Regions from separate parts of the Homo sapiens genome. Here region 1 is linked to region 2. The links are contacts of gene promoters, found by promoter capture Hi-C in blood cells and fetal thymus (Javierre and others, 2016). All regions are on one chromosome and are shown on one strand. The core of a region is centred on a gene start or on the middle of the fragment in contact, and the rest is flanking DNA. Distances in the headings are between cores, read along the strand shown. Region 1 holds the start of MAG (myelin associated glycoprotein). Region 2 holds the start of ATP4A (ATPase H+/K+ transporting subunit alpha).

Region 1 (4,626 bases), core at 1,772-4,271, 270 kb after region 2:
CTCACTGCTTATTCTGCTGTCTTAACTCATTGGATCTCTTTGAGGAAGATGCATTATCCTCATTTTATAGCTGAGGTCCAGAGAGGTTAAGTGACTCGCCCAAGGCCACACAGTTGGTCTGCAGTCTTTGCTGCATGTCCTGTCTCTATGCAGTGATGATGTGCTGATCATTATCTTTGTCACCGTGATGCCCCTGGAGATCTCCAGAAAGTAAGAACCAGAGAGCCAAGGCAGGGCCAGCATTGCAAAGCTGAAGCAAGGGAAGAGAGTTGGTACCCTGCCCCTCACCTGAATCTCCCTGAGTTGGGGACGTCTTCTGGGTCCACCTGAAGCCGCCAGACAACCTGCATGCAACAAGAGTCACTCAGGTGCAAGGGGGCGGGATTGAGGCACCCAACCCACCCCCGCTTCAGTATCTCCTGCATGGGTTGTGACCTGTTGTCAGGCTGCCCATGTGGCCCTCCCATTGTGCCTGGGACCCTCCCACACAGCCTCGAAGCCACTCTCTGGCAACAACTCCCTCCAAGCTGGGGTGTCAGAGAACTGTGGGGAGGGAAGGGGGAACGACCGCATCGGGGTACGGGGGTGAGACTGAGGGGTGTGGCGAGTGGAGTGAGGGAGCAGATGTCCCACGGCCGGGGCCTGGGGGTGGCGGGCAGGGACCCAGAGCCATCAATGACTGGGTTTCACAGTATCAGCATTCCCGACATGCCGCGTGAATTCCTGCCGCCCTCTCCCACCCCACAGACGGCCCCTGGTGTCCGCACCCTCACCAGAAGCTGGTCCCCGGTACAAAAGAGTCCTGTTCCCTCGGGGAGAGGGTGTTTTAGCCTGCGGGGGGCTTTCAGGGTAAGTGGGGAGTAAGAAAGGGGTCAGGCACTCCTGGCTGGCCTTTGAGCAGGGCCAGGAAGGCCCAGGGTGGGGGCTAGCGAGCCCCTGGCACCCTGCTGCTCCATGGGTTGCCTTGGGGTTGCAGCCAGGGTTTCCAAGCAATTGCTTTTCCCAGCCTTCACCGCCCTCTTCCCACGGACAGAGACACATGCACAGACACATCCAATCGCGGGGATGAAATGTGACAGATGTAGCCCCAGCCAGAAGGGGCAGGCACACGCAGCGGAGACTCATACAGACACCCAGACAGGACCCTGAACACACAGACAGGCACAGGGACCCCTGTGCCCACAGGGATGGGCTGGCACTCACATAGTTCCCAAGGCGTGCATGCAATGCCTCTGCTGCTGTCCACACACACCTGGACAGACACAGCCCTGGCATTCAGCACACACACACACACACACACACAGCCCAGCATGCATGCCAGGCTAACAAAGATGCAAGGAACTGCACACACACACTGAGGATGGCTATAGACGCGTCCACTCAGACACGCGCCGATGGACACCTGGCCGACGCTGCCCTTGCACCTGTGACAGGAAGGTACAGGAGAGAGATGCAGATGAGGATGAGCACGTGCCCGGGCAGACATGAAACAAGCAGGTAGACCATGCACTCTTAACAGCGGGGAAAACAAGTTCTCGGGATGGGGGCCAAATCAACCTCAGCTATTACAGTGTGTGTGGCCACAGTCCATAAACATATGTACAGCAGATCTGTTGGATTAAAATGCCAAGGGAAGGATGGGATGAGGACAAATGCATCTAAAAAGTTTCTGTAGTTGGGGCCGGGCGCAGTGGCTCACGCCTGTAAACCCAGCACTTTGGAAGGCCAAGTTGGGAGAATCTCTTGTGCCCAGAAGTTTGAGACCAGCCTGGGCAATATAGTGAGAGTCCCGTCTCTTAAAAAAAAAAAAGTAACGAAAAATAAAAAGTGTCCTTAGTGGGGATTAATGAAGAAAAGTCGACTGAGGCTTACAGAGGAAGGTGCATGGGCAGCCATGTGTGTGCACGCACACGCACACACACACACACACACACCTGCTATGTGCCCAGGTGCTAGAATGCAGTCACTAACAGCCCACTGCCCCCATCCACCTCCCAGATTGCAGCCTGCAGGTGTCTGATCACCTGGACATCCTTCCATTCTTCGGCCAGATGCAGACCTCCTCCACCCCATCTGCCCCGCACTCGGGAACCCCAAGGAAACCTCTCCTGCAAAATCTTCACCCACAAGGGGTGCTGAGGGGGGGCCCTTTGTTTTTTCTCTCTGTGGTTTCTTCCCAGAGCCCCATCGCTGCCCCAGCGATGGTCCGAGCCCATCCCCAAAGCAGCCCCAAGCCACACACTCCTGCATCCTAAATCAGTAGCGGTGCACAGCGATGCTCCCTCACCCAGAGCACCTGACCCTGCTCACGTCTGGGTGCCACTGCCCCGGTGCCCTGCTCCCCTTGCCCTGGCCTCCCTGCCACCATACTCACTTGGACTCAGTTGCTTCTGCACCTCTGCTCCGCCAGCCCAGCTCGCAGTCCCCTGCCTTCCAGGGTCTAGGCCCCCACTTGCCAGCCCCTCCCCTCCCCCTGGGTGCCAGGGGCCGCCTGCCTCCAGGGCCCAGCTCCTCCCTACCCCCGGGGGAGGGGGGCACAAAGGGGCCCTTGTCACCACGGGGCTCGGACTGGGCAGCCTGACGCCTGGGTTCTCCTAGCTCTTTCCTGGAGGGGTCGGGAGTGGCTGCCTTGCTCTCTCCCCATCTTCCATCCCTGTACACCCTGATTCTGGGTCCCGGGGGTGGGGGGGCAGTCTAATCTCTTTGGAAGTCCCAGGCTGAGGGACAGAGGCATTGTCCTCAGGGAATCTTGGTGGCAACATTAGGTGGGCAGCAGGAGGAGACAGGTCCTTTCCACCCTCAACGTCAGTGTCACCTCCTCTTGCCATCTGAAATGACCTTCCGTGTTCACCAACTCCTTTCATGAGAACGTGACCTCCACCAGGCCAGAAGCTTCGTCTTGGATATTCTCAATCCATCCTTGCTCGTAGACAAGCTCCTGGCAGGCAGTTGAGCTTAATAAACAGTGTGGGTGGTTGAATGTGTTCCCCAGAGCCCCAGGGCACCTTCAGACTCAAGGCCTGTGCACCTGCTGCTCATTCTTCCTGGAAAGCAGTCCCCACCCCATAGCACTCCCCACTCTGGCACTGGCTGCCGTTCACCCATCCTGTAGGCTCAGCAGCCTGGGTGCCGCTTCCCTGGGAAGCTTTCCCATCTTCGCCCATCAGCCAGGCCCCTCCATTGCAATGCTGTCCTTTCCTTCTGTAGCCTTGGCAGGCTGGCCCGTGTGCACCCTAGGTCTGCCCGCCTCTGCCTCCCACTAACCCAGGAGCTCTCAGAGGCAGGGGCTCACCAGAAACCTATCTGCCTCTCTGTCTGTCATGTGCACCCTTCTGTCCCCGGGGCAGTGCTTGGTGCACATAGGACTGTGCTGACCAAGTTGGGCAAGGACCCTCTGAGTGCAGATTCCACCCCTTGGTCATGACTTTTGCAAGGTGGGTGGGGGCTCGGGGCAGCTGGAGGTGGCGTGACAAAGTGCAGCAGTGATTTCACCATGAGCTGTTCAGCCTCACTGGGACATCTCCTGTCCTCCTTCAGGCCAGAGCAGTGGGGAGGGGGGGTCCTCGCTCTCAAGGGAGAACCCAGGGGGTGAGGGGCGGGGAAATCCCTCAGACCAGGGAGAGAAGCGTTGTGGGGCTGGGGGGGAGTTGGAGGGGGAGGGGGAGTCCCACCCCCACCCCAGGCTTCATGATGTCAGACTCTGCCCGTGCCTTTCCCAGTCCGGGACAAAGGACCATTGAGAGTCGGGCGGGGCTTGAATGCCTGGGTCCTGGAGAAGAGAGGGGCCTGGTGCCTGGGCTTTGGTGGTGGTGGTCGGGGTGACAAGGAGATCCTGGGGGGTATTTGCATGTCACAGCCTTCAGCATCAACACCCACCTAGTTGGAGCTGGAGTCGTGTGCTGGTGCAGTGTGGGGCTCCATCTCCTCCCTGGGTGTGAACTGAAGGCTGTTGCTGGGGAGAGGACAGTGTCCCACAGGAGCACTCGCAATAGTCGCTGACATCAGCAACTCGGGTCTCCAGGAGACCTGTGGGAGCGAGGCGGCTGGAGCCCATGAGAGGAAGGGGCTGGGTGACAGGACCTGTGACTGGCGGGCAGGTGCCCTGTCTAAGGGGACAACTGACCCGCAGATCCAGTGGCCGGTGCTGCCGTATCAGCTGATCTTTTACGAGAGAGCAGGTGTATCAGTTTTCCAGGGCTGTTACAACAAAGTTTCACAAACTGGGTGGCTTAAAAACCGGAATTGAGGCCATGCACGGTGGCTCACACCTGTACTCCCAGTGCTTTGGGAGGCCAAGGCGGGCAGATCACGAGGTCAGGAGATCGAGACCATCATGGCTAACACGGTGAAACCCTGTCTCTACTAAAAATACAAAAAATTAGCCGGGCATGGTGGCAGGCGCCTGTAGTCCCAGCTACTCAGGAGGCTGAGGCAGGAGAATGGCGTGAACCCGGGAGGCGGGGCTGGCAGTGAGCGGAGATTGCGCCACTGCACTCCAGGCTGGGCAACAGAGCAAGACTCCGACTCAAACAAACAAACAAACAAACAAACAAAAAACCCTGCCAGAATTGAGCTTGAATTCCAAGATCAACAAGATCAAGTGCTGGCAGTGTTGGTTCCTTCTGA
Region 2 (4,455 bases), core at 447-2,946:
CATACATGGCTCAGAGCTGATGGGAGCCCAGTGAGCGAGTAGATTCACTACAAGGACAGCATGTGGCCCCACGCCACCTCTTCTTTGGAGGTTTCTTCTAGCAGGCTGGGGATGACCAGCCGTGTGGGTGCGGGGAGGAGCTCTGGCTGCCCAACAGCTTTGAGTTTCCCAGGTGACCTGCCCCAGTAGAGAAGGACATTGCCAGGGCAGTTATCTTATCAGGCGCACGCTCACCTGCTCCTGGAGACACGCTCACCCCATAACATACCAAGGTCCCCACCATTCCACTGGCCCAGCCCCTCGCTGCTGCTGCCCATGGAGGTCCCTACCTGAGGGATGAGGAGGGAGTCCCCAGGCCTCCTGGCATCTGTCACCCAACACCAAGATCAAGCCAAGACCCTTGGACACATCCTTTCCCCATGTTGCACCTTGGTTTCCCCATCTAGGGTAGGGACGGGGAATGGTTGAGAGCTGTAAAGTCTGTAGCTGGATATGTGAGTCCCTGTGAGCCTCAGTTTCCCCCTCTGCACAACAGGAATGATAGTTCTGCCTGCACAGGGTTTTTTGCAAAGACCCGTGAGGTCACACGTGCAGAGCCTGGCATGTGTGTGGTGCTGCTGCAGTGAAGTTTGGGTTTTTCCATTGGTGGTGCCATAGAAGAGCTAGGCTCTGGGGTCAAGCCCTGGGGTCAAGCCCGGGCTGGAACCCTGTCCCTAATTCTTAGACGTTGAAATCTTCTGCAAAGTCCCTGATGGGGGCTAAGAAGAGAATATTGCTTTACAGGGCTGCTGTTAGATGCTAAGGAAACCATTTGAGTGACACACAGAGCACACCCAGCCCATAGTGAATAGTCAGAGTTCAGTAAACATTCAGCCACCATAGAGAGTGTTGTAAGCATGGCAGGGCATGGTGGCTCACGCCTGTAATCCCAGCACTTTGGGAGGCCAAGGCGGGTGGATCACCTGAGGTCAGGAGTTCGAGACCAGCCTGGCCAACCTGGTGAAACCCCGTCTCTACTAAAAGTACAAAAATTAGCTGGGTGTGGTGGCATGTGCCTGTAGTCCCAGCTACTCAAGAGGCTGAGGCAGGAGAATCACTTGAACCCGGGAGGCGGAGGTTGCAGCGAGCTGAGATTGCACCACTGCACTCCAACCTGGGTGTCAGAGTGACACTCCATCTCAAAAAAAAAAAGAAAAAAAAAAAGAGTGTGGGAGCACCCTCCTCTTCCAGTTGATCAGGCACGTGCTATTTAGACTGAAAGAGGACACTCTGCAGCCAGCTGATCTGGTTCTCACTCCATTATGTCCTAGCCTGTGATGGAGCCATAGGAGAATGACTCAACCCCTCCATGCCTCAGTTTCCCCATCTGTAAAGGGTCTTGTCCCCTCAAAGGGTTATTGGAAGGTTAAATAAGTTAGCACATGGAAGCCGTCAGCACAATGCCCAGCGCATAATGAGCACCTTATGTTTGCTCTTCTTGTTGCTGCAGCGGTTCCCAGGGGCTCCCTGATCTCAGGGCAGGTTGACATGGGGGGATCTGGGCAGGGGAGGGGGGGGCCAGCCCAGGAGGGAATGCCTGAGGTGCCCAGGCCTAGAGGTCACCCCAAGGAGCCTGTAATCAGCTGTGGTCGGGCGGTTCTGCTCCACCCCACCGCCCTCCCTGGGTATATCAGGACTGGTCCGGGCCCAGGCTCTGTTGGGTGGGAGCACAGGCACCGGGCACCATGGGGAAGGCCGTGAGTGGGGCCCAGGGGTCCGGGGTGCAGTGGGGACAGGGGTTGCAGTGGAATCTGAGTTCTCCCTCCCTCCATCCTGTCCATTCCCAGGAGAACTATGAGCTCTACTCGGTGGAGCTGGGTCCTGGCCCTGGCGGGGACATGGCTGCCAAGATGAGCAAGAAGAAGAAGGCGGGTGGCGGGGGTGGCAAGAGGAAGGAGAAGCTGGAGAACATGAAGAAGGAGATGGAGATTGTGAGCTCTGACTGGGGAGGGGCGGGAGCTGGAGGGTAGGCTGGGAACCAGGCAGTGGGCGGGGAGGGGGCCAGGAGAGCCCAGAGCAAGCACCCTGCCCCACCCCACCACACAGAACGACCACCAGCTGTCAGTGGCGGAGCTGGAACAGAAATACCAGACCAGTGCCACCAAGGTGAGCTGGAGACTGGGAGCGTACAGAAAGGGGAGGAGGAGAGAGGGAGGGAGAGGGAGATGGAAGGAGGGAGATGGAGAGAGGGAGAGAGAGGGAGAGATGAAGAGAGGAAGATATGGAGAAATAGAGAGAGGGAGGGAGGCAGAAAAGGAAAGAGGGAGGGAGGGAGAGAGGAAAGGATGGAGGGAGGGGAGGAGAGAGGGAGGGAGATGGAGAGAGGGAGAGAGAGGGAGAGGGAGAGAAGGGAGAAAGCATTAGAGAGAAAGGGTGACACACAGAGACGGAGAGAGGAGTAGCTGAAAAGAGACAGCAAGACAGAGAAGGCAGAGACAAATAAGGAGAGAGCAGCAGGAGAGAGACACATAGAAAGGGGAGCGAGGAGAGAGAGACAAAGGGAGAGATGAAGGAGGGAGGGAGAGATGGGGTGGGGGCAGGAACCAAGAGACAAAGAGATGAGAAGGAGCAGGACAGACCAAGCTGGAGAAGGGAAACTGAAGCAGGGGGCTTTCCACGGGGTGTGCATGTGGAGGAAAGCCCCCAGGACCGCCTCGCCCTGCCCCTCTGTCCCAGGGCCTCTCTGCGAGCCTGGCTGCTGAGCTGCTGCTGCGGGATGGGCCCAACGCACTGCGGCCACCACGGGGCACCCCAGAGTACGTCAAGTTCGCGAGGCAGCTGGCCGGGGGCCTGCAGTGCCTCATGTGGGTTGCCGCCGCCATCTGCCTCATCGCCTTTGCCATCCAGGCTAGTGAGGGGGACCTCACCACCGACGACAATGTGAGCCATGTTGTGGGGACAGGCTCAGGACATGGGGACCTGGGGATGGAAGACACTGAGCCTGGGACTTGGGACAAGAGGGGCAGAGAAGGATGGGGATAGACGAACACGAAAGGCAGTCTCAAGACAGGGGTCATGGAGGGTGAAGGACATTGGGATATGGATGGGGCAGACCCAAGGACACAGGACACAGGGACACTGGGGTGAATCTTGGGTATGGGGACATAGGTGGGGGCATAAAGAGTATGGCAATGTGATACGTAAGAGATGGGATTTGGAGGCCGGGCGTGTAATCCCATGCCTGTAATCCCAGCACTTTGGGAGGCCGAGGCGGGCAGATCACCTGAGGTCAGGAGTTCGAGACCAGCCTGGCCAACATGGCAAAACCCCATCTCTACTAAAATTACAAAAATTAGCCAGACATGGTGGCGGGCACCTGTAATCCCAGTTACTTGGGAGGCTGAGGCAGGAGAATCATTTGAACCCAGGAGGTGGATGTTGCAGTGAGCCAAGACCATGCCACTGCACTCCAGCCTGGGCGACAGAGCGAGACTGCATCTTAAAAAAAAAAAAAAAAAAAAAAAAAAGAGATGGGACTTGGAAGCAGAGGACATGCAGTGCAGACACAGGACAGACTGAGGCACGGGGAATAGGAGACCCTGGGACTCAGACATAGGACACCAGGGCAGGGACCCAAGCCTCAGGACACAGCACATAGAGAGACACAAAACATGAGACATAGAAGCACAGAGACAGAGAGGAAATGGAGGTGCAGGGCAAGGGACATTGGACATATGGCAGAGATGAGGGCAAGGGACATGGGGACTCAGGGACATGTGACATGGGACAGAGGCTCGAAAAGTCATGGCCATGGGACACAGGATGGGAACTCGGAGATACACAGACATGGGAGACACGGGACACAGTGACTGGGGAGCTAGAACATGGGGGCCGTGGCCACAGAGGACACAGACCATGACGTACAAGGTCTGCAGCACACGCAGGGACGGGGATGTGAGGATGCAGGGACAAGGGGGCCCAGGGGACACACAGAGGGTGGCAGCAGATTATGGAAAACCCAGGATGTGAAACTGGAGACACGGGGAATACAGGCCATGGGGACAGGAGGAGACATGGGACAGTGGACATGGGGAATGCAAGGCTTGGGGACACAGGAGAAGGGAACACGTCAGACCAAGGCACACAGTGATTTGGGGCACAAGTCACAGATATGGGGACATGGAAGATTGAGGATTCAGGGCCAGAGGATATGAAATATACACAGAAACACAAGACACTGAGAAGACAGAGCAGGCGAGTGTGGGACATGAGGGACATGGGAGGGGGCTAAAGGCTACAGGGAATGGTGCATGGAGCTTCCTAGTAGGTGGGGAAAAGCATGGGGAAAACCAAGAAAACCAGGGCACCAGGGAGCAGGTCGGTGGCCTCAGGCAGGCAGCTTCCGGCCCCTCTGAATAACCCCACCCCTTCCCTGTCCCCAGCTGTACCTGGCAATCGCTCTCATTGCTGTGGTTG

What was found. Contacts are between HindIII fragments. The CHiCAGO score rates a contact against its expected background, and 5 or more counts as called.
Region 1: a contact is called between a fragment that was not itself captured here and the fragment with the promoter of ATP4A in region 2, in 1 of 17 cell types (erythroblasts). The highest score is 5.5, in erythroblasts.

What each region holds. Positions count from the first base shown.
Region 1 is chr19:35,289,953-35,294,578 of GRCh38, reverse strand. MAG (myelin associated glycoprotein) reads right to left here and starts at 2,418. Exons shown (of 11, transcript NM_002361.4): 1 at 2,375-2,418; 2 at 289-344. The HindIII fragment of the contact is 253 bases long and covers 2,895-3,147 here.
Region 2 is chr19:35,560,899-35,565,353 of GRCh38, reverse strand. It overlaps ATP4A (ATPase H+/K+ transporting subunit alpha), which reads left to right and starts at 1,696. Exons shown (of 22, transcript NM_000704.3): 1 at 1,696-1,736; 2 at 1,827-1,970; 3 at 2,086-2,145; 4 at 2,716-2,919; 5 at 4,422-4,455. The coding sequence starts at 1,725. RefSeq lists an enhancer at 40-541. The HindIII fragment of the contact is 9,853 bases long and covers 1-4,455 here.